Linked DNA regions of Homo sapiens: all the other regions are linked to region 3. Evidence: promoter capture Hi-C in 16 types of primary human blood cells and fetal thymus (Javierre and others, 2016). All regions are on one chromosome and are shown on one strand. Each heading gives the region's core, a stretch centred on a gene start or on the middle of the fragment in contact. The rest is flanking DNA. Distances are from core to core; before and after follow the strand shown. Region 1 overlaps NDC80 (NDC80 kinetochore complex component). Region 2 overlaps METTL4 (methyltransferase 4, N6-adenosine). Region 3 holds the start of MYL12B (myosin light chain 12B). Region 4 holds the start of DLGAP1-AS4 (DLGAP1 antisense RNA 4). Region 5 overlaps METTL4 (methyltransferase 4, N6-adenosine). Region 6 overlaps DLGAP1 (DLG associated protein 1). Region 7 overlaps DLGAP1 (DLG associated protein 1).

Region 1 (2,740 bases), core at 12-2,511, 670 kb before region 3:
TCAGGGTACTCACTTCAAGGTCACCTTAATAAGCAATGAATTAGCACAAAGGGAATTGGTTTGTCTTGAGGGATATTTACTTCATCTAAGGTATGGAAAATTCTGATCATCCATTCTTGCCTTCTCATAAAGTCTACATTCTCAGTGACCAAAACATCTCATGAATGCAAAATATAGTGTTATTTTCTCTTGGATAAATGTTAAGAATTCTAGTATTGTACTGTTTAGATTGCTACTCATCATGCAATTCATTTTTTAGCCTGAAGTTACAATGTAATTGTAGCCTTCATTAATTACATTTGGGTTTTTACAATTAGACCTTATCAATTCAATTGGACTTAGATGATCAGCAGTTTATTTAAATTTTTCATCAGGTGCTTTATTCCTAAAGATGATTAAGTTTGTGCATTTTATGTTGAATTACATTTATTAATAAGCTTCCCTGTTTGTTTGACCTTCTCAAAATTCTGAAGGTATGGCTGTTTTTAAATATTGCCTTTATCCAAATTTAAGTGTTATTTTATCCTCATTATTCATATTTAGAAGTAGCAGACTAAATAAGTCCATATAGCATAATTATATAGCCTAGGTTTTTGTCTCTTATTTATAGGTTCATCTGACTACTTAGTATTTCTGACTATTTTTTAAATTCAAATATAAATTTCCACCTAGAAAAGTGAAACAGACCAAATAGAGAATCATAACTTTGTTTCTAAAATCTGCTTAACCCCATAGTTGTTTTTGGACTACACCATAAAATGCTATGAGAGTTTTATGAGTGGTGCCGACAGCTTTGATGAGATGAATGCAGAGCTGCAGTCAAAACTGAGTAAGTGTTCTCGTTCTTAGGGTGCTTGCTTTTGGTCATTTCACTCTGCTCATGGAGTGGTAATTTATTTACCATATCCAGTGTTCATATGAGCTACTTACTTTAAATGTATCTGGATGCCTACTGATTTTTATCTTTGTGGTTTCTTTGGTGGAGAGAAGTTAAACAAAAAGAATACTAGTGTTGGAGCCAGACCTGAGCCATAACATCTTACTGTCTGTGGCGCCTTAATAAAATACTTGACCTCCTGACAAAGTGTAGCAGCAGTAGATGACAGTATAATAAAGTCATAATATACCAAACATGCTACCAGAAGCATAGACAATAATTAGCAAATGCTATTCCTCTTGGGGGATAATATCCCTACGTTGTCCTTGCTTACTATTTGAGAAATTAAAGCACCAATTAGTCAAAAGACCTAAGGTCTCTTTCAAAATTTGTGGCAAAAAGTTAACAAGACATTATACTTCCAAATATGTAAGGAAAATCTTTTTTTTTTTTTACTCATTTACAACCTAGTGACATACAGTATTTACTAGATAACTCTAAAACATTCCAGAGGTATTATTTTACATTTTCATTCTTTCTATTGAAATAGTCTTGTATATAAAATGCCAAAATGGAAGGTAAAATAGATAAATGGAGGTGAAGCTATTCCTCCAACAATGGAATCAATCACTTTGCCAGTATTATCACAAAAGCTGAAAGCATTCCCTTATAGTCCCCTGGGATTGTATCTTCCTGAAGAGTAACCAGGACAATTTCAGCTTGTTCACATGGGAAAGGGAGCAAAATAAATGGCTTTGTTTTAAGAGAGGAAAATTTAGAGTGATCTAAGCATCTAATGAGTAATTTGATATTTCTGTATATAATTAACCAAGCATAAAAACTGCATTCATTTATTCAAATAAATATTTTTTGTATACCTACTATGTGCCAGCCACCATTTAGGCACTGAGGATACAGTAATGAATAGGATAAAAACCTCTGCCCTTATGAGCTTACATTTTAGTAGACAGAAAGAGGAAAATAATGAAATGAGCAACTTTAAGTCAAATGGTGATAAGCGCTTTGGAGAAAAATCAAGCAGGACAAGGAGAGTCGAAGTACGGTGGAGTAATGGAAAGGGTTTGCTGTTTTACAAGGATGGGATGTACTTCACTAATAGTGTTTTGGGCAGAGACCAGAAGGAAGTGAGGGAGGGAGTAATGGTGAAAACTTGGGAAAGAATGTTCTAGGCGGATTTGAGGTCTTAAAAAGCTTTTGGATTTTGTCTCCAGAGGATTTATTTAATGTGGATGCTTTTAAGCTGGAATCATTAGAAGCAAAAAACAGAGCATTGAATGAACAGATTGCAAGATTGGAACAAGAAAGAGAAAAAGAACCGGTTAGTAAACATGTTTACACACTTACTTGAGAGCTCTTTTAGACTTTTGGGTGTCCTTGGATATTAGCTGTCTTTATCAAAATTTTAAAAAATAGATTAACAAATTAAGCTTCTTAAAAGTTAAATTTTCACCTAGAAACTCCCAATGAAAACATGTTTGGTATCTGTGGAGCCTTGTTTTCCCTTGCGGTCTATCAGTCTTAGACTAATGGTGCTCTGGATATGATGAAAGATTCTTACCTACTTACATAAGATCAAAAGTACTTTTGAACAAAGGCCCTGTGTTATATACCTCTAGGGAGCATTAGTCACAAGAAGCCCTGAGTTTTGGAGGTAGTGCAAAAGGAATGGTTAATAAATGGGTTTATATAGTATATTGTATCCTGAGTTTTCTAAAAGCTAAATATTAATATCCAGTTATCTAACTTTATTTTCTGCATTATTAGTGAAGCACTCAAACTGTTGTTGTAAAATACCAGATTTTAAATATTTGTGCTTTTTCAACCCTAGCAATTGTGGTTTTT
Region 2 (2,700 bases), core at 67-2,566, 720 kb before region 3:
ACTTTTCCATTTTCTTCCCATGAATTTAACGCCTCACCAGCCTCAGTTCACTTTAATGTGGTCTCAGGTTACGCTGAAGAAAGGTTTTGTTTGTTTTTGTTTCATTTGTTCAGATTTTTGGTACGAAGATGTTAGCAACCCTATTTTAGAAATTTAAACTGGAGTCAGCCAGTCAAAAATGTTTCCTCTTCTGAGCACCCACTATAATCAGTGTTATAAAACTTAAACAAAGGAAGCAGAATATCCATGTTTTATGAGAGTTTACAATCTAATGGAAAATAATGGCCAGGTACTTGGATGGAGTGGAAAAATACATACAACCTAAACCCATTTACTGCCATCCTATTTTCTCAATGTAGTAAGTTTTTGCATGGTTCTTTTCCTTTCTAGTTAAGAAAAACAGAATATTAAGTTGTGTTTTTATAATGTTAACTACAATTATTTTATTTCAAAATAAGGGAGAAGAAATAAAGGCAAATTAATAAAAATGGATTATTCTGGTTTTTAAATATTAATTTAAAAATAAATGTGAATGTATAAATTTAAACATGAGTATGACACATAAACTTCAACAATTACATAACATCTGGAGTTAGTAAAACACACTTTAACTAATGGAGCGGATGCAATCTGTGCACAGCTAGTCATTTCGTTTTTGCTCTGAAAGCATGGGGCAGGAGTAAGAGAGAAGTGGCCCAAACATCAGTGCATATAATCCCATCAACTAAACTTCACTCTTCAGATGGAAACTGTTAGTATGTAAAGCAGTAAAAAGAAGTGGAAATTCCTCTAAGGTAAAATGTGAAAGCTAAAATTTTGATTTAAATACTTTATTTCATGATTTTCCTACCTTAAATCTTCAAACAATATCACTTTATAATGTTAGGTTGTAAACCATAGCTATTGATAGCTTATCTTTCAATCGGAGAAAATTTCAAAACTTATGCAAATGTATCATTTTGAAATGCCATATGCTACCAATGTGGTCTCCTACATTTTGCAACAGAAATAACCAATTAAACTTAAAAAAAAAAAATCAGGGTGTTTCTAAATACAAAAGAGAAAACATTTCATTTTATTAATTTGCATAAAACAGTTTAAGAATATTTAAATGTAAAAGCTGTAAGCATTATATACAGAATATATATCATCCCAAACCCCTAGAGTTATGATTTCAGGGTAAAATATACTGCAGAAATCTGAGAGATGCTTTCTGAAATATATAGAAACATGAACTATACTAAAAATATATACAGTAACATGAACTCAAAAATAAAATATTACAATATTTCCTATCACTACTTAACCAAAACATAAGATTTTATATATATATGGAGTTATTCAGATGTTTCCTCCAGAATCTAACTTTTGTCTTTAAATGTTTTCAATGCTAAAAATGTGTTTGTGCTGCTCTCTACTGGGAATGAGGAAGAACTGCATTTCAAAGATATAAGCTGTAATGCTTTAGGGCAAGACTCATTTTTTTTTTCTTTTATTATTATACTTTAAGTTTTAGGGTACATGTGCACATTGTGCAGGTTAGTTACATATGTATACATGTGCCATGCTGGTGCGCTGCACCCACTAACTCGTCGTCTAGCATTAGGTATATCTCCCAATGCTATCCCTCCCCCCTCCCCCCACCCCACAACAGTCCCCAGAGTGTGATGTTCCCCTTCCTGTTTATTCACTATTTTAAAACCTGTCTCCTGAGGCTCATCTTTAAATATAACTTTATTTTATTTTAAAGGAATTGACAAATAGTTTACTATCATTTCAGAATGAAAAGTTTATGGTCTTAGCTTTTGAATTTTTAAAAGAAAAAAATAAGGTTTGAGACAAACACTAGCTTTGTTACCAAGTGATAAATAAAATTCAAATGAGAGGAATACATATACATATATAATCAGGTATTACTAGTGCCAAGTATAATTTTTTTTTCATGAGGAACAATGCAATCTCACTTTCACTTGAGTTATATATTAAAGCATTAAAGGTCTATGACAGTCCGAAGCATAAGGCAATCGATTATTCACTGAGAATCCTTCTTAGTCAAAGAATGGATTATCAGGTAGACATCTGTATATGTCTCAAATGAAGTAATACTATAAACACCCTTCTAGAGGCTGGGTGCGGTGGCTCATGCCTGTAATCCCAGCACTTTGGGAGGCCGAGGCGGGCGGATCACTTGAGGTCAGGAGTTTGAGACCAGCCTGGCCAACATGGCGAAACCCCGTCTCTACTAAAAATATAAAAATTAGGCATGGTGGCACACATCTGTAGGCCCAGCCACTCAGGAGGCTGAGGCAGGAGAATCACTTGAACCCAGGAGGTAGAGGATGCAGTGACCCAAGATCAGGCCACTGTATGTGACAGAGTGAGACTCCATCTCAAAAAAAAAAAAAAAAAAATTAAAAAAGGACCCTTCTCCATAAACTATTTAAGATAACAGAAATCCTAAGTGCTAGCAATAAAAATTCTCTAGGAATTTGTATTCACTTTCTCCATTTCCCAGGTCATAAACTGCCTCATATTCTGCAAGGTAACATAAGCTCCTGTAGTTTTCCTGAGTGGTAACTTGTAGCAGTTTTTTGTTGGTAGAAATTACCAAACCAATAAAATATGTATTCCTGAAGAAATCCTTTGAAAAGTAAACTTTGAATATCAAATTCAGTATCTCTCAAGGACTTATATTTCTAT
Region 3 (2,700 bases), core at 81-2,580:
AATATTGTAGAACCAGGTGTGACTTTTCAGCAATTGCTTTTCTAACACTATTGAGAAAATACACACAGTTATGAACCGCGTTTAGAGCTGTGCTGCTGGGATGGCGACCACCCCATCAGCATCATGTGTGCTTACCAGAAATTCGAATTATCCTCCACCCCTTACTCACTGAATCCTGATACCCGGTTTTGAGGCTCAAAAATGTTTTTAAAAGCCCTGTTATTATGCGTGCTACTGTTTAAGAACTGCTACAGAGTGCTGAACACAAGGTCCCTCTCTTCTAGGAATTTCTGATCAAAGATTTCTAGAATATAAACTCCCTAAGAGGCTTTGAATTCATCTCTCAGCATCCGGCACATGTTAAGGCAGTAAGAAGAGTTCAATAAAGATTTGCTATTAGATTGCCGATCCTCCACCATCCTGAAGTAATGCTATTTTAGTAATGCTAGATGAAGTAATGCTAGATTACCTCAAGGTGAGGGAAAATATCCTGAAGAACACAGCCACAAACACGATCTAGAACAAAACCTGAAAAACGTAGCTTTGTGTTTTTATTTGTGTGTGCATGTATGTGTGTGCGTTGCCATTTTCTTGATAAAGGAAAGCAAGTAGTTCGAATAAAACTTTCTTGTGGCCAAAAGGGGAATCAAACAGCCGTAGGCTGCGGCCGTAGCCTGATACGGCCGTAAACCTTATGAGGGTAAGCAGAGAGGAGTAGGTTAAAGAATTTAACTCGGGCTGTAATGCGGTTTGAAAAGAGAAAGGGATTCTGGAACGGAGAAGAATCCGCCCAGGCGCCGCCCTCACCTTCTCAACATTACATGAGACGAACCCTAAAACCTGTCTTGTCTGAAATTCAAATTTAGAAGAACTGTACTTTTACTTGCTACATCTGGCAACTCAGGGTTCGGCGCCAGGGGACCCCAAATCCTAGGCGGATCGCGCCCCGCCTGGGTCAAAGGGGACCCCAAATCCTCGGCCGATCGCGGCCCACTCGGGTCAAATTCCAGCGGCCTGCCCAGCCGCGCCCAGCGGGCCCAGGAATGCGGAAGGGTGGCGGAGCTACCAAAGGAGCGGGGGACGAGGGCCGGGCTGCGGACGACCGCCGCAGCGCAGGCCGCGATATCGCAGCGGATCGGAGCAGGCCGGAGGGGCAATTAAGACCCCGGCCGTGTGCGTCCGGCCTCAGCAGCCCCGCCGCTCGGCGGACACGCAGACCCCGCCGGCCCGGGCGCGAACACTCAGCGCACCCCCGTTCCACTTGGTCCCGCCGCGCCTTCCGGTGCGCCTTCCGGTGCGCCTTCCGGTGCGCCTTCCGCTCCGCCCCTTCAGGCAGGAAGTGTCGGCGCCGCCACTGTCCGGCCACAGCCTAACGCTCTTCGCTGTCGTTTGTGGTCTCGCGCAGGGCGGCCCCGGTTCTGGTGTTTGGCGTCGGGTGAGTCGCGCTCGACTCTGCTCGCGAGACCCCTCGGGCCGCCGTCTCCGTACCCCCGCGCCCCCTCCCGTCGCGCGCCTGCGGCCGGACCCCGCCCCAGGGCGGCCAGGCGGCGGCAGGACCTGTCAGACTGGCTGAGAAGGGGGCGCGGGGCCGGAGGTGGAGGGAGGAGGGTTGGCGGCGGGAGGAGGGTTGGTGGCGAGGCCCTGGCCCGGACGTCCAGGGGCCGGGAGGCTGCAGGCGATGGAGCCGGTATGGGGAGACGCCCTGCTGGAGAAGTGGCCGGGTCCCGGCCGTGCGTGGGCCGGCCCTGCGCCACCTGGGTGACCTCAGACACCTGGGCCTTGGACGGCCCGGCTGCCCGGCGGCCAACGCCTGCCCTCCCGGCGCCGCGGCGGGTCCTGGCGGTGGATTGGGGCCGACCCGGGCGTGTTCGTGTGGAGCACCTGCCCTGTGCCCAACACTATCCTAGATGCTTTGGAGGGTGGAGGAGCCTCCTGTTGCACGGTCTTGCCTAAGGTGAAGCCTCCAAGGAAGCCATTAGCATGCCGGTAACCGAGTGTGTGGTTGATACGGGCTCAAATGTGATGATTTACATAGAGTTGTAATTCGCTCAGTGTGTCTTGCATCTTGTAAAGGTTTAGTTTATTCGTGTTGATTGAAGAAAGGACCATTAACAGAAATAGGGAAAGGTTACTTGGAAAAGAGTCGTGACCTCACTGAAGGCCTTGGATTCAACCTTAAGAGGGAGAACTTAGCGTTTCCGGCTAGATGTGTGGGAGGTGGTAACGAGCAAAACTCAAAAGCTGGGAATTGTGTCCTGTGAAAAGCAGGCCGTGGGGACACCGGCGGGTATGGAACAGAACTGTAATGACTAATAGTCGGAAATAAGGGTAGATAGGTAAGTAGGACCTTCTTATGGATGTCTTGAAAACTTAGGAGAAAGAAAAGATTATCTAAGAAGCCATAGAGAGTAATTTTGGAGTCTTCACTAACGGAGTAATAAGAAAGGGATGTTTAGAGGATTCGTTTGGCCGCTTTAGTTTAAGGTAGATTTGGAATGGTCTTTTGGTAAGAGAAGAATCAAAGCATTTAGAATTCAGTAGGACCTGATAGATTACCTTGTGAAGGCTTTGCGTTTTATAACTGAGGAAAGTGAAACCCAGAGAGGTGAGGTAATTTGTCGAAGGTGGTGGACCCTCCTGGACTTTATAACTAAGAGCACTTTTGAGTGCTTTAGGCTCTTTTGAGTGAAACAGCTTTTA
Region 4 (2,700 bases), core at 169-2,668, 700 kb after region 3:
CACACTGATGCCTGGTCAGCAGTGGGAGGGCAGACCTGGAGAACAGCTTTGCAGGCCTTGGAAGGGGCCTCAGGGCCAACTGACTGGGAATTCTACCATCCCAGGTACCTGGAGCATGGCCCACAAGTGGGGCAAGGGGAAGCATGGGCTTGGGGGCCTGCAGACTCATCATGCTGCTGTGAGGGGCATGGACAGAGGAAAGCCACAGAGGGGTCTTCTGACACAGGGCACAGGACAGTGGCTTGGGTTGCTCAGGTTTCAGGGAGGACTGGATGCAGGATGCTAACATGATTGACCAGGTTCTTGGACTCTGAGTCACATACAGTAAAGGATCCCTTCGCCGTGTATTAACAGGTCATGGGCAACACTTTGATCTTTCTTTGGTACAAGACAGTAGAAGATATTACCTTAGGATATTGATTCTCAAAAAGATCTGGGAATTTTTGCTTGAGATTAAAAAAATATATATGATGCACAATCAGGCAGTTACGTCTCAGTGGTAAGAATTTTTGTTTGCTACCACTTTTAATATCTGCAGTCCTTCTTTTTTGGATTCATTTGCTGAAATAAATTCCCTAGTTATTCTTTCAGAAAGGACGTCATCGGGTAAACTTTGTCCAATCACTCATCGTTTCTTCACATTAAATTTGAGTTTGAACTGGTAACAAACTAGTATTCATTTTCCCTGAGCACTTGGGAGAATTGATCCAATGACTGCTGGTGTGTAGAATGAATTGCGATGAAACATCTCATCCTACCTGCTCCTCATTCCCTTGTAAGTAATCTGTGTTCACTTCTCCCTGCAGCCTGGAACCTTTATATATTCATATATTTATTTATATGTAAATATTCTGAACATTTACCAAGCTGTGTACTTCAGGGAAATTTTCTTTTAATTTGGTCAGTATTTTCCCTCTTCCATTTTTTGTTCTTTTCTTCTGAAATTCCTATTTGATAGACGTTTGAGGTTTGGCTCTATCCATCATTCCTACATCACTCTTCCCATTCTTTCCATCCCTATGCTTGTTTTCATGATATTTTTAGGAATCCTTCCAGGACATTTATTCTTTAGTTGTATGCATTTTGCTTTGGACTGACAGCGTGTATCTCCCAGGAGTTTTAAAAAGAGTGGCTTGGTCTTATTTTATTGAATATTTGAGGACAAAATGATTACATTTCTTTGGTTATTATGCTTATCTGAAAATTGTCTTTGCTTTTTTTTCTGTTGACAAGGTCTCCTTGGGGTGAGTTAGTTCTTCAGTTTGTTGATTTGATGCTTCTTGTAGGTGTTGGTGTTCTTTCAAAGTTTGGTGATTCTCAGTTATCTATTCATGCTCATGTTGAAGGACTGGTTGAAGACTGAAAATTTCCTCAATCCAAATGAGAAGTGCTGTTTTCTATTCATGTGCATCTTGATCTCTTCTGTCTGCCTTCTATAATTGTGGGGAGAGCAGGATGGGGGAGACTGCTTTGCTTTGGGGGTGCCAGAGGGGATTTTTCCTTAACTGGAACATAGCCTTCTTGGCCTCTCTTGTTACAGTCCTCACTTCAGAATACCCACTTGGAGGCTTCACCTGAAGCTGGGCCAGTTCCAGCTCCAAAGGCTCCATTTCATTGCCCCCCTCACCCCCCAGGGTTCTACTCTGCTTCTCATAAATATAAACCAGCAGAAGAGCTTTTCCTTTGTTGAGAGCACAGTTGCTGGGCCTTGTGAGGCTGAAGGAAAGTGTGCAGCTGCCTGGACTCAAATGTGCATGAGGATGAGGTGCCCAGGCTACCCTGCTCTTCCAAGACCACCTCCTAATTACTGACACATTTGCCCCAGGTCCCTTTCTTGTACAGTTTGTCTCTGAGCTTCTCTCCTGGGCTGTGGTTTGTTTTTATCCTTTACCTTTGAAGCTCCATTCTCTTCTGTGTACTTTGGGCTGTTTTTTTTTTTTTTTTTTTTAGTGCAATTTTATACTTAATTGGATTACATTTGCCTTCTGGTTCTCTGCTTCATATTTTCAGTGTGATTATGGATTGATTCTTTGTTTCCATTGCAAGTACCTTGATATATGCCCTTGTCCCTCACCAAGGCTGTAGGTGTATCTTCTATGGGATCTCTAGTGTAAGCCCCTTCAGCTCACGTCCAACACCTAGGCTATCTGCTGTGACAGCCACTGGCCACATGTGACCATTGAGCCCTAGATTTCGAAGACTTTGTACAAAGAAAAAGGAAGGTAAAGCCCTTAAGAATAATGTAAATACCAATTAAAGTTTGAAATTTTAATATTTTGGATGCATTGGCTTAAACATAGCATTAAAGTTCATTTCATTTCTTTCTTTTTATTTCTATAATGTTGCTACTGGAAAATTTAAAATCGTATACGTGGCTTGGGTTATATTTCTATTGTTCTACACTGCAGGAGGCGTCATTCCTAAGATAAAATTAGGAGGAGTGGGTTAAGATGATGAGCTGGATATGTATACACACTCCCTATTTATTCTCAAATCTCAGCATAAAACACAAAAGTGTAAGATAATTTACACTCTTTAAAAAAGGGGCAGTGCAGACAGGAAGAACACCAGAGGTAAATTTCTTTGGCAGAATTTATGTGATTTAGGGATCTATTTATCATTAGTGGAAAGGCAGAAAAAGGCCCAGGAAAAAATTCAATGTTTCCACCTTGGGAAAATGGGCCAATAGTTGTCCTGTTA
Region 5 (2,700 bases), core at 90-2,589, 700 kb before region 3:
AATTGTACATCTAAAAATGGTTAAAACAGTAAATTTTATGATACGTATATTTTACCTATTTAAAAAAACCACAAATTACTAATAAAAGCAATGAAAAAGTTATCATCACCACAGATCCTACAGACATTAAAAGAAAGCATAAGATAACATGACTTCATGCTAACAAATTTGACAACTAGGATGAAATGAACACATTTCTGTTTTTTGTTTTTTATTTTTTCGAGAGGGAGTCTCTCTGTCACCCAGGCTAGAATGGAGTGGCATGATCTCGGCTTACCGCAACCTCCACCTCCCAGGTTCCAACAATTCTCCTCCCTCAGCGTCCCAAGTAGCTGGGGTTATAGGTGCCCACAACCACACCTGGCTAATTTTTTTATATTTTTAGTAGAAATGGGATTTCACCATGTTGGCCAGACTGGTCTCCAATTCCTAACATCAAGTGATCTGCCCACCTCGGCCTCCCCATAGTGCTGTGATTACAGGCATGAACCACCATGTCCAGCCTGAAATGAACACATTTCTTAGAAAATAAAACTTGTGAAAACTGACATCAATAGAAACAAAAAACCTGAAAATCCGGTTCTCTATTAAAAAACCTGATTTTGTTACTAAAAACCTTCCCCCATGACAATTAAAACACAACACATCGGAACGTACATGATGTTGCTAAAGCTGTGCCCAGAGAAAAAGTCTCATCATTAAATTCTTCTATCAATAAATAAAGAAAAAAGAAAAGAGGAAAAAAGTAAAGTTGCCAAAAAAGTATCCACCACAAAAAGCAACACACTGAGATGGTTACAAAGTGGGGGTTCTATCAAACTTTATCAAACTTTTAAAGAACAAATTATCCCAATTATTTTTCTATTGCTCCAGAAAATTGGAAAGTAAAAAGAAGGAAAACTTCTAGCTTCCAACACGAGAGGGCTAATAAGTTCTCCAGCGTGCAAACATCCTACATATTTACATATATAATTATATATAAGGCCGAAGAAGTAAATATATCAGACCAATCTCTCTTATGACTGTCCCAAATAAAACATTAGCAAATAAAATCCAGTAGAGGCCGGGCGCAGTGGCTCACGCCTATAATTCCAGCACTTTGGGAGGCCGAGGCGGGCAGATCATGAGGTCAGGAGATTGAGATCATCCTGGCTAACACAGTGAAACCCCGTGTCTACTAAAAAAATACAAAAAATTAGCTGGGCGTAGTGGCGGGCGCCTGTAATCCCAGCTACTCGGGAGGCTGAGGCAAGAGAATGGCATGAACCCAGGAGGCAGAGTTTGCAGTGAGCGGAGATGGGCCACTGCACTCCAGCCTGGGCGACAGAGCGAGACTCTGTCTCAAAAAAGAAAATCCAGTAGAACATTTTAAAAATAGTAACATCATGATCATTTGGAATATATTCTGCAAATGCAAGGATGGTTAATTGAGGAAGAATCATAGGAAAAATCTATTCAGTCTCCTTCAATAGGATCAATAGGTTCATGGAAAAAAATTTTTAAAAAAGAAAAAAAAAATCTGTTCAATCTCCATATATGCCTAACATGTTATTTCCAACTCAGTTGAAACCCAGTATTATGCTTAATGATGAAATTATCCCCCTTGTCAAGCACAAGACAAAGTAAATATGCTCACATATATTACTTATGTTTATTATGCACACAAATATTCTTTAATATTGTATTATAATTTCCACCCTACAGAATTAGAGAAGAAATCAGAAACATGATAATTGGAAAGGTATAAGTAAAATTACTACTATTTGAAAGAGTTCTATATCTGGAAAATCCAAGAGATACAACAACAAAAAATTACTACAACTTAACAAGAAACCTGCAAGGCCTTTATAAAGAAAATTTTACACAACGACAAAACAAAACGTGAGCAAATGGAAAAATACATTCATGTTTTGGGGCGGAATCACCAACATCTTAAAGATGTCAACACTGCCCTAATTTAATTTAGAAATTTAACTTGATGCCATAAAAATGGCAACAGGTTTTCTAACTAGATGTTATCATTGATCCTAAAATTTATATGGGGAAAGAAAACAAATTTATTAAAAAGAGGAGTGATGAGAAAAGGATGGGGATGGGCAGGACTGGCACTACCGGATAGTCAAACCTCTAAATCTGATTCAGCAAATATTCTGTCCTACTACTTTTTAAGAGTTTGATTCCATTCTGCAGCACATTTCATAATTTGTATTTATGATTAATACAAGTATTTAGCAATTAGAATATACATGAATTCAAGAAATTCTATTCTCTAATTTCATGTAAACTTTAAAGTGAAAGTAAATCTTATTAATTTTTTTATAGATATAAATACCCTGGATTTTCCTGGTATTTCTGCAGTTAACCTTGCAAGTGTCATTTCCAGAAAATAAGTGTATTTCCAAAATTAACAGATAAACTGCTCACATTGAGGGATTTAACATTTGTGTATTCAGCTGTCTTCAGAACATTTAAAACCCAATGTGTTTACGAAAACCACAATAAGATACCACTTTATATCCGTCAAAATGGCTATGATTAAAAAAAAGGGGGGCAGGGGCTGCATACAGTGGCTCTTGTCTGTATTCCCAGCACTTTGGGAGGCCAAGGCAGGAGGACTGCTTGAGCCCAGGAGTTCAAGACCAGCCTGGGCAACATAGTTAAGACCTTATCTCTACAAAAAAATAAAAAATTAGCTGAGCG
Region 6 (2,761 bases), core at 261-2,760, 730 kb after region 3:
CCAGGTAATCAGCATAAAACTTTATAGGTAATTTTTCAAATTTTTTTAAAATTTGTTTTAATTTCTAATAAAGTAAATATTAATATAAAAAAACAAAAAACAAAAGACCTCATTTCCTGTATCTCTAAAGCACAAGCCCATTCTGAGATTTTATAGTTTTTTACTGATGTCTTGCTCAGACTTTTTCAGTAAATATTGAAATGATTAGAATTAAATAGAATTCTTATATATTTGTATTTACTCATCTCTCTGTATTTCCGGTGGGGGGATAGAGTTCAAGGAAAAGTTTAAGAGACATGGTTGGTTCATTTCAGGAGTCCAAACCTTATGCTAATGAGGAAGCTTTGTCAGGGGAATTTCAGATATTGGCCAGTGGCAGTGGTGGGAACCTTGGGGTTAGCATCCTTGAAATAACACCGCAGAGGTGGTGAGTGGCCAGTGTGCCTGGATGACCCAGATTTGAGTGGGGTCTCTTCTGGAGGCTGACTGCCCAAGCAGCCTGAAGAATCACAGAGATACTTTCTGGTTGGTATTGCCCTTCTCCCTTCTCCCCAGAGCTATGCCTGATTTGGGCTGAGACAGTGGAAAATACACAATGCATGTTTCAGACATTCCTGCTTTAATATGTTAATATCTCACCCACTCTCCAGACCAGGAATCTCATATCTTGTCCTACTCTTTTCCACACAAAAAGAAAACTGCATTACATATAGAATTTTTCAGTGTAGCTGTTGCTTATCCCATTGTAACTAACCACTTTGATTTATTTTTTTGTGTATATCTTGCCTTGACACGCTTTCTTTATCGAAGACCACGGAAACATGGATTCTTTGTGATATTTTGAAAAATGACAAATTGAAGAGATTTTTATCTCTGGAGACTCAGCTTTTACATCATAAAGTACTTCTCTCCCCTGATGGCTAACCCAATCACATAGTTCCACAATAAACAAGATGAATCTAGATTCATAAGACAGTATGTGCAGAAAAATGCTGTTACTCTTTGTGGCTTCTTTCCCTGTGCCTTGAAAATGTTCATTAAAAATCTCCTACTTAGTTTGCCTCATTATATTGGTTTACTCATATTGGTCCCCTATTTTAATGATTTAAAGCACGTTTGAAAAGATTTCTTGTTTGGAACATCCTTGGCCAGGCCACTACTTTGTAAAGTAGGGAAGTCTGCAGGCCCTAGTTGTTCTTTTGAACTTAGTTCATAAAATGATTTTTAAACACTGATCTATCAGCTTTTCTCTTCTCTTTATCAAAATTAATAATTCACATAAAAGCCACCTATTTAAATGGAGTCTCAGCTGGGTACGGTGGTTTACGCCTGTAATCCCAACACTTTGGGAGGCTGAGGCGGGTGGAATGCTTGAGTCCAGGAGTTCCAGACCAGCCTGAGCAACATGGTGAAATCTGTTTTCTACAAAAATTACAAAAATTAGCCAGGTGTGGTGGTGCACAACTGTGGTCTCAGCTAACTGGGAGGCTAAGGCGGGAGGATCACTTGAGCCTGAGAGGCAGAGGCTGCAGTGAGCCGTGATTATGCCACTGTACTCCAGCCTGGTGACAGAGCCAGACCCTGTCTCTAAATAAATAAATAAATAAATGGAGTTCCATTGTTAGCAACTTACACAACCTGGAAAAATCAACTGATCTATAAATATTGGCATGGATGAGTGTACAAATACTTTCAAAAAGAATTACAATTTCTCTGTAATAACTATCAAGGTTATTTGGCTAATAGGGGGTCCCTGGAAGACCTTTAAGACCTGTCTGTAAAAGAAAAGGAACGCTGGCAATTCACAAGACACCTCAGCAATGTAGCATCTGCTCCTGGGGCAGGTAACAAAATCCAGTTTTAAATTTTGCTCTTAACAGTTAAGGAGATAATCAAGTCAGCTTGGGATTGGGTTGTGCACAGGAAGGCTGCAAAAAGATTACAAAATAGCCTCCCCCTGGCAGAAATGTAAAAAAGCCATTCCATGATTTTTTTTTTTCAGTTCTGCCAACGATTTATCTTCAGAAGACAAGCAGATGAGGAGACAAAACCTACTGATGTGGGTACCCAAGCAGGAACCCCCCTCTTGCACCGGCGACTCACGTGGGAAGAAGGTAGGAAATCAACAGCATAGGGGAAAGAAAAGGAAAAGGAGTTTGGAAACAGGATAAGACAGGCTTCTTTTGAATAATGGAGAGGACTCTTAGAAAAAAGAAAAGAAACAGAATAAATTTTTATTCACTGATTCCATTTCAGCGCAGCAAATTCTCATTGATTTTAATCAATTGCTTTCTTACAGAGTTTTGTCCATATGTATGTGACAAAATCAGCGGTCATTTAATGACAGACTTAGAATGTGTGCTAAGAATGAAACCATTGAGATTTCCTTGTCTTTCCTCCTTTCAGTAAAAATCATGAAGGGGAGAAAGGGAGGGGGTGAGGGTGGGGCAAGGAGAGCAATATTTTATAAAAGTGACAACGCGTTTTGCATTTGAATTATTATTTATTTTCCCTGGTGGAGTTTCAAGCAGGTTATTGCAAGGAAAGGAAAAACTGGAAATTAACCAAACGTGGTCCAGACTGGGGATGACGAGTTTAGCAGGGGCTTTAATGGGACCTCCTAAGCGATTCAGGAGAGAATGAATCTCTCATAGTTTCCCTTCTCATGGGATCACTGACCAAGCTTCCCCAAATCAGGGTGCAGCAACAAAATCAGGGTGCAGCATCTTTTAAGTGGGCTTAAGACCCACTTAAAAGCTTA
Region 7 (2,717 bases), core at 108-2,607, 660 kb after region 3:
GTTAGATATGAGGTTCTGGAGTTCAGGAAGAGTGCTCTATTGAGAGATCTAGATTTGGAAAATTATAGCATGAGAGCAGGACAGTTGCCGCCTCAGACCTGAGGGGATGCCAACATTTAAAGCAAGAGGCAGAAGGGCTCCTGCAGGAGACAGGGAATTGGGAAGGCAGCAGGTTAAAATGAGGCAAGTGGTCATCAGTAGCAAATGCCACAAATAGGAAATGTGAGATCAAGACCAAAAAAGAACATTTAATTTGACAATTGGGAGATTGCTGAGTTCCTTTATCTGAGCAGTTTTGCTGCAGTTAAGGGTCCAAAAAAGCTTCGTTTTAGTTAAATAAATAATAAATTAAAAGAAAATAAGTGAGGAAAAACAGGTTTGACAATTATTTTTAGGATCTTGACAATGAATGAAAAGGAGAGGTGCCCGGCATTAAGCCAGGCACTAGGGATATGAAGTCTTTACCCCTGGAGAAGAATTCCTCAGTAATAGCATTGTCATTTGTGCGTGTTTAAGATGAAATGCTCATGTATTACTCTCTAGGGATAAAGGAAAAATAAAGCTACAATCTTTGGATTCCATTCCCCATTGTTAACGGTTTTTCTTTTGTGTCATGCACAAAATAATCTACAACTTGTTTTCTTCACTTAATACTACATGATCTTGGACATATTGCAAATCATCAAAAAGAGGTTCAAAATAATTCCTTTTAATAGCTGCATATTATTTTACCTTCTGGCTTGATCAGGATTTATTTAACTGGCCCTTTATGGAGGAATGTTTTTTGTTTCTAGCTTTGTGCTATTTGAAGTCATCTCTCAGTTATTTTCATATATATCCATTTCCATGAAGTAAATTACTACAAATGGAGTTACTTCTGGGTAAAAGGATTTAGGTAGCTTCAGATTTAATAAATACTGTCAAATTTATTTTCAAAAAGCATGCACTAGGCCGAGTGTCGTGGTTCGTTCCTGTGATCCCAGCACTTTGGGAGGCTGAGCGGGGAGGATCTCTTGAGGTCAGGAGTCTGAGACCAGCCCAGCCAACATGGTAAAAACCTCATCTCTACCAAAAATATAAAAATTAGCTGGGCGTGGTGGCGCACGCCTGTGGTCCCAGCTACTCGGGAGGCTGAAGTGAGAGGATCACTTGAACCCAGGAGGCGGAGGTTGCAGTGAGCCAAGACTGTACCACTGCATTCCAGCCTGGGCGACAGAGAGAGAACCTGTCTCAAAAAAAAAAAAAAAAAAAAAAGCACTAATTTTGCTCCCACTAACAGTGTTCATACTGTTCATTGAATAGTGTTCATTGGAGAAGAACAGGGTCTTCTCCAGTCTTACCAGTCCTGGGTATAATAAACTCTTAAATATCTTTTGGATGAAATCAGTATCTTATTTGATTTTTAAAAAATGATGTCTTGTTTTAATTTTCACATTATTATAAATAAGACTGAACAACTTTTCACATGTTTATTTGCCGTTTTTGTATTTCTTCTGTAAACTTTTTGTTTATAACTTCTGCTCTTTTTCATTAAATTAAAATTTTTATTTGTAAAAATTCATTGGCTTTATGGGAAATTATTGCTTTGTCAGTCAAGTTTTACAGATATTTTTCCAGTTTAATGTCTTTTTTAACTTGTTTGTTGTTTTTATGTAGCCAAATTTATAAATATTTTACTTCAAAATCTGGTTTACATCGTGTTTATAAAAGTTTTCCCAACTTTGAGTTTAAAAAAACATCACTTTAGTTTCCATTTTTTAAATTCCAAAGATGATTCCTTAATCTTTGGTGATACCAATTTCTATCGTGTGTCACTCTTGCTATCTGGAAGTATAACCAAAGTCCCTTACATTCCTCTGTACTAAAACAGTAATCCTGTTGTTTTGGTATTAACACATTTTTGAATAAATTTTTATCATATTGCTGATTCACTTTTAGAAAGGAGAATCATAAAATTACATCAAAGTCGTGGCATCTAAGTTAGAGACAAAACCAGTATCTTAAAGGAGATGGTGCTGGTGTTGAGTCACTATCTAATGACGACTCACCAAGCAATCCTGCTTACTGTTCAGCTCAAATGCACTGGAGAAAACATGATTCTCTAACCACATTTGAGAGTTCAGCCACATGTAGAGACATGGAACCTTCACATCTTTCCTCTATCTGTTGTTTAAAAGTGTCAGTGATGTCACAGAAATAACTATTTCATGGAGTGTCACTATTACAGAAATAGTGAGCCTGGCAGAGGCTAGAAAGCAACCGACTCTCTCACGTCATATTAGCTACATCGCCATAGAATCACTGCTGCCCCAGTGGAAAGAAGTGAAAAGCCCATTTATCATCTTGCATATACCCTCCTCAATCAGTTGCCTGGAAAACCATGGGGAAATATAAAAAGCTTTTGGTTGAACAGTTCAGAAAACAAAACCAGTTCCACTACACTCTCCCAGGTGTGGTGCCCTAGGTCCACACCCTCCACTTCCTCCCCCACTGCCACCCTATTCTCTCATGAAGCTCCCTAGATTTTCTGTTTATGTTTTCCTTCTCTTTCAAGATGCCAACATTTTCTCCACAAAGCAGTTTACTAAGTCAATGCCATTAGCATACACAAATCTCAAGTTTTGGGGGAAAAAGAAACCCTACAAAAAACCCTTGGAGGTGAACTTGTTCATTTCCTCCCCTGAAAGTGTGAATTTTTTCAGCCGTATCCCCATAAG

The links. Contacts are between HindIII fragments. The CHiCAGO score rates a contact against its expected background, and 5 or more counts as called.
Region 1: a contact is called between a fragment that was not itself captured here and the fragment with the promoter of MYL12B in region 3, in 1 of 17 cell types (fetal thymus). The highest score is 6.0, in fetal thymus.
Region 2: a fragment that was not itself captured here is called in contact with the fragment with the promoter of MYL12B in region 3 in 1 of 17 cell types (neutrophils); the score reaches 5.2 in neutrophils.
Region 4: a fragment that was not itself captured here is called in contact with the fragment with the promoter of MYL12B in region 3 in 1 of 17 cell types (erythroblasts); the score reaches 5.3 in erythroblasts.
Region 5: a contact is called between a fragment that was not itself captured here and the fragment with the promoter of MYL12B in region 3, in 1 of 17 cell types (neutrophils). The highest score is 5.1, in neutrophils.
Region 6: a contact is called between a fragment that was not itself captured here and the fragment with the promoter of MYL12B in region 3, in 3 of 17 cell types (erythroblasts, megakaryocytes and M1 macrophages). The highest score is 12.3, in erythroblasts.
Region 7: a contact is called between a fragment that was not itself captured here and the fragment with the promoter of MYL12B in region 3, in 1 of 17 cell types (erythroblasts). The highest score is 5.9, in erythroblasts.

The regions. Positions count from the first base shown.
Region 1 is chr18:2,587,095-2,589,834 of GRCh38, forward strand. NDC80 (NDC80 kinetochore complex component) reads left to right here. Exons shown (of 17, transcript NM_006101.3): 8 at 736-829; 9 at 2,110-2,216. Among named protein-coding and RNA genes, the nearest start is that of NDC80, 17 kb to the left of the region's middle. RefSeq lists an enhancer at 2,040-2,740. The HindIII fragment of the contact is 1,652 bases long and covers 436-2,087 here.
Region 2 is chr18:2,540,722-2,543,421 of GRCh38, forward strand. The region is part of intron 8 of METTL4 (methyltransferase 4, N6-adenosine); the gene reads right to left. Among named protein-coding and RNA genes, the nearest start is that of METTL4, 29 kb to the right of the region's middle. The HindIII fragment of the contact is 8,684 bases long and covers 1-2,700 here.
Region 3 is chr18:3,260,803-3,263,502 of GRCh38, forward strand. MYL12B (myosin light chain 12B) reads left to right here and starts at 1,331. Exons shown (of 4, transcript NM_033546.4): 1 at 1,331-1,435. MYL12-AS1 (MYL12A and MYL12B antisense RNA 1) reads right to left here and starts at 1,557. Exons shown (of 4, transcript NR_130145.1): 1 at 1,251-1,557; 2 at 470-528. RefSeq lists an enhancer at 727-776 and a silencer at 987-1,876. The HindIII fragment of the contact is 3,443 bases long and covers 1-2,700 here.
Region 4 is chr18:3,961,656-3,964,355 of GRCh38, forward strand. The region is part of intron 3 of DLGAP1 (DLG associated protein 1); the gene reads right to left. DLGAP1-AS4 (DLGAP1 antisense RNA 4) reads left to right here and starts at 698. Exons shown (of 5, transcript NR_102696.1): 1 at 698-775. The HindIII fragment of the contact is 6,261 bases long and covers 1-2,700 here.
Region 5 is chr18:2,559,535-2,562,234 of GRCh38, forward strand. All of the region lies in intron 3 of METTL4 (methyltransferase 4, N6-adenosine), which reads right to left. Among named protein-coding and RNA genes, the nearest start is that of METTL4, 11 kb to the right of the region's middle. The HindIII fragment of the contact is 4,359 bases long and covers 1-2,700 here.
Region 6 is chr18:3,991,089-3,993,849 of GRCh38, forward strand. The region is part of intron 3 of DLGAP1 (DLG associated protein 1); the gene reads right to left. DLGAP1-AS4 (DLGAP1 antisense RNA 4) reads left to right here. Exons shown (of 5, transcript NR_102696.1): 2 at 2,003-2,114. Among named protein-coding and RNA genes, the nearest start is that of DLGAP1-AS4, 30 kb to the left of the region's middle. The HindIII fragment of the contact is 2,341 bases long and covers 341-2,681 here.
Region 7 is chr18:3,921,902-3,924,618 of GRCh38, forward strand. The region is part of intron 3 of DLGAP1 (DLG associated protein 1); the gene reads right to left. Among named protein-coding and RNA genes, the nearest start is that of MIR6718, 38 kb to the left of the region's middle. The HindIII fragment of the contact is 2,077 bases long and covers 320-2,396 here.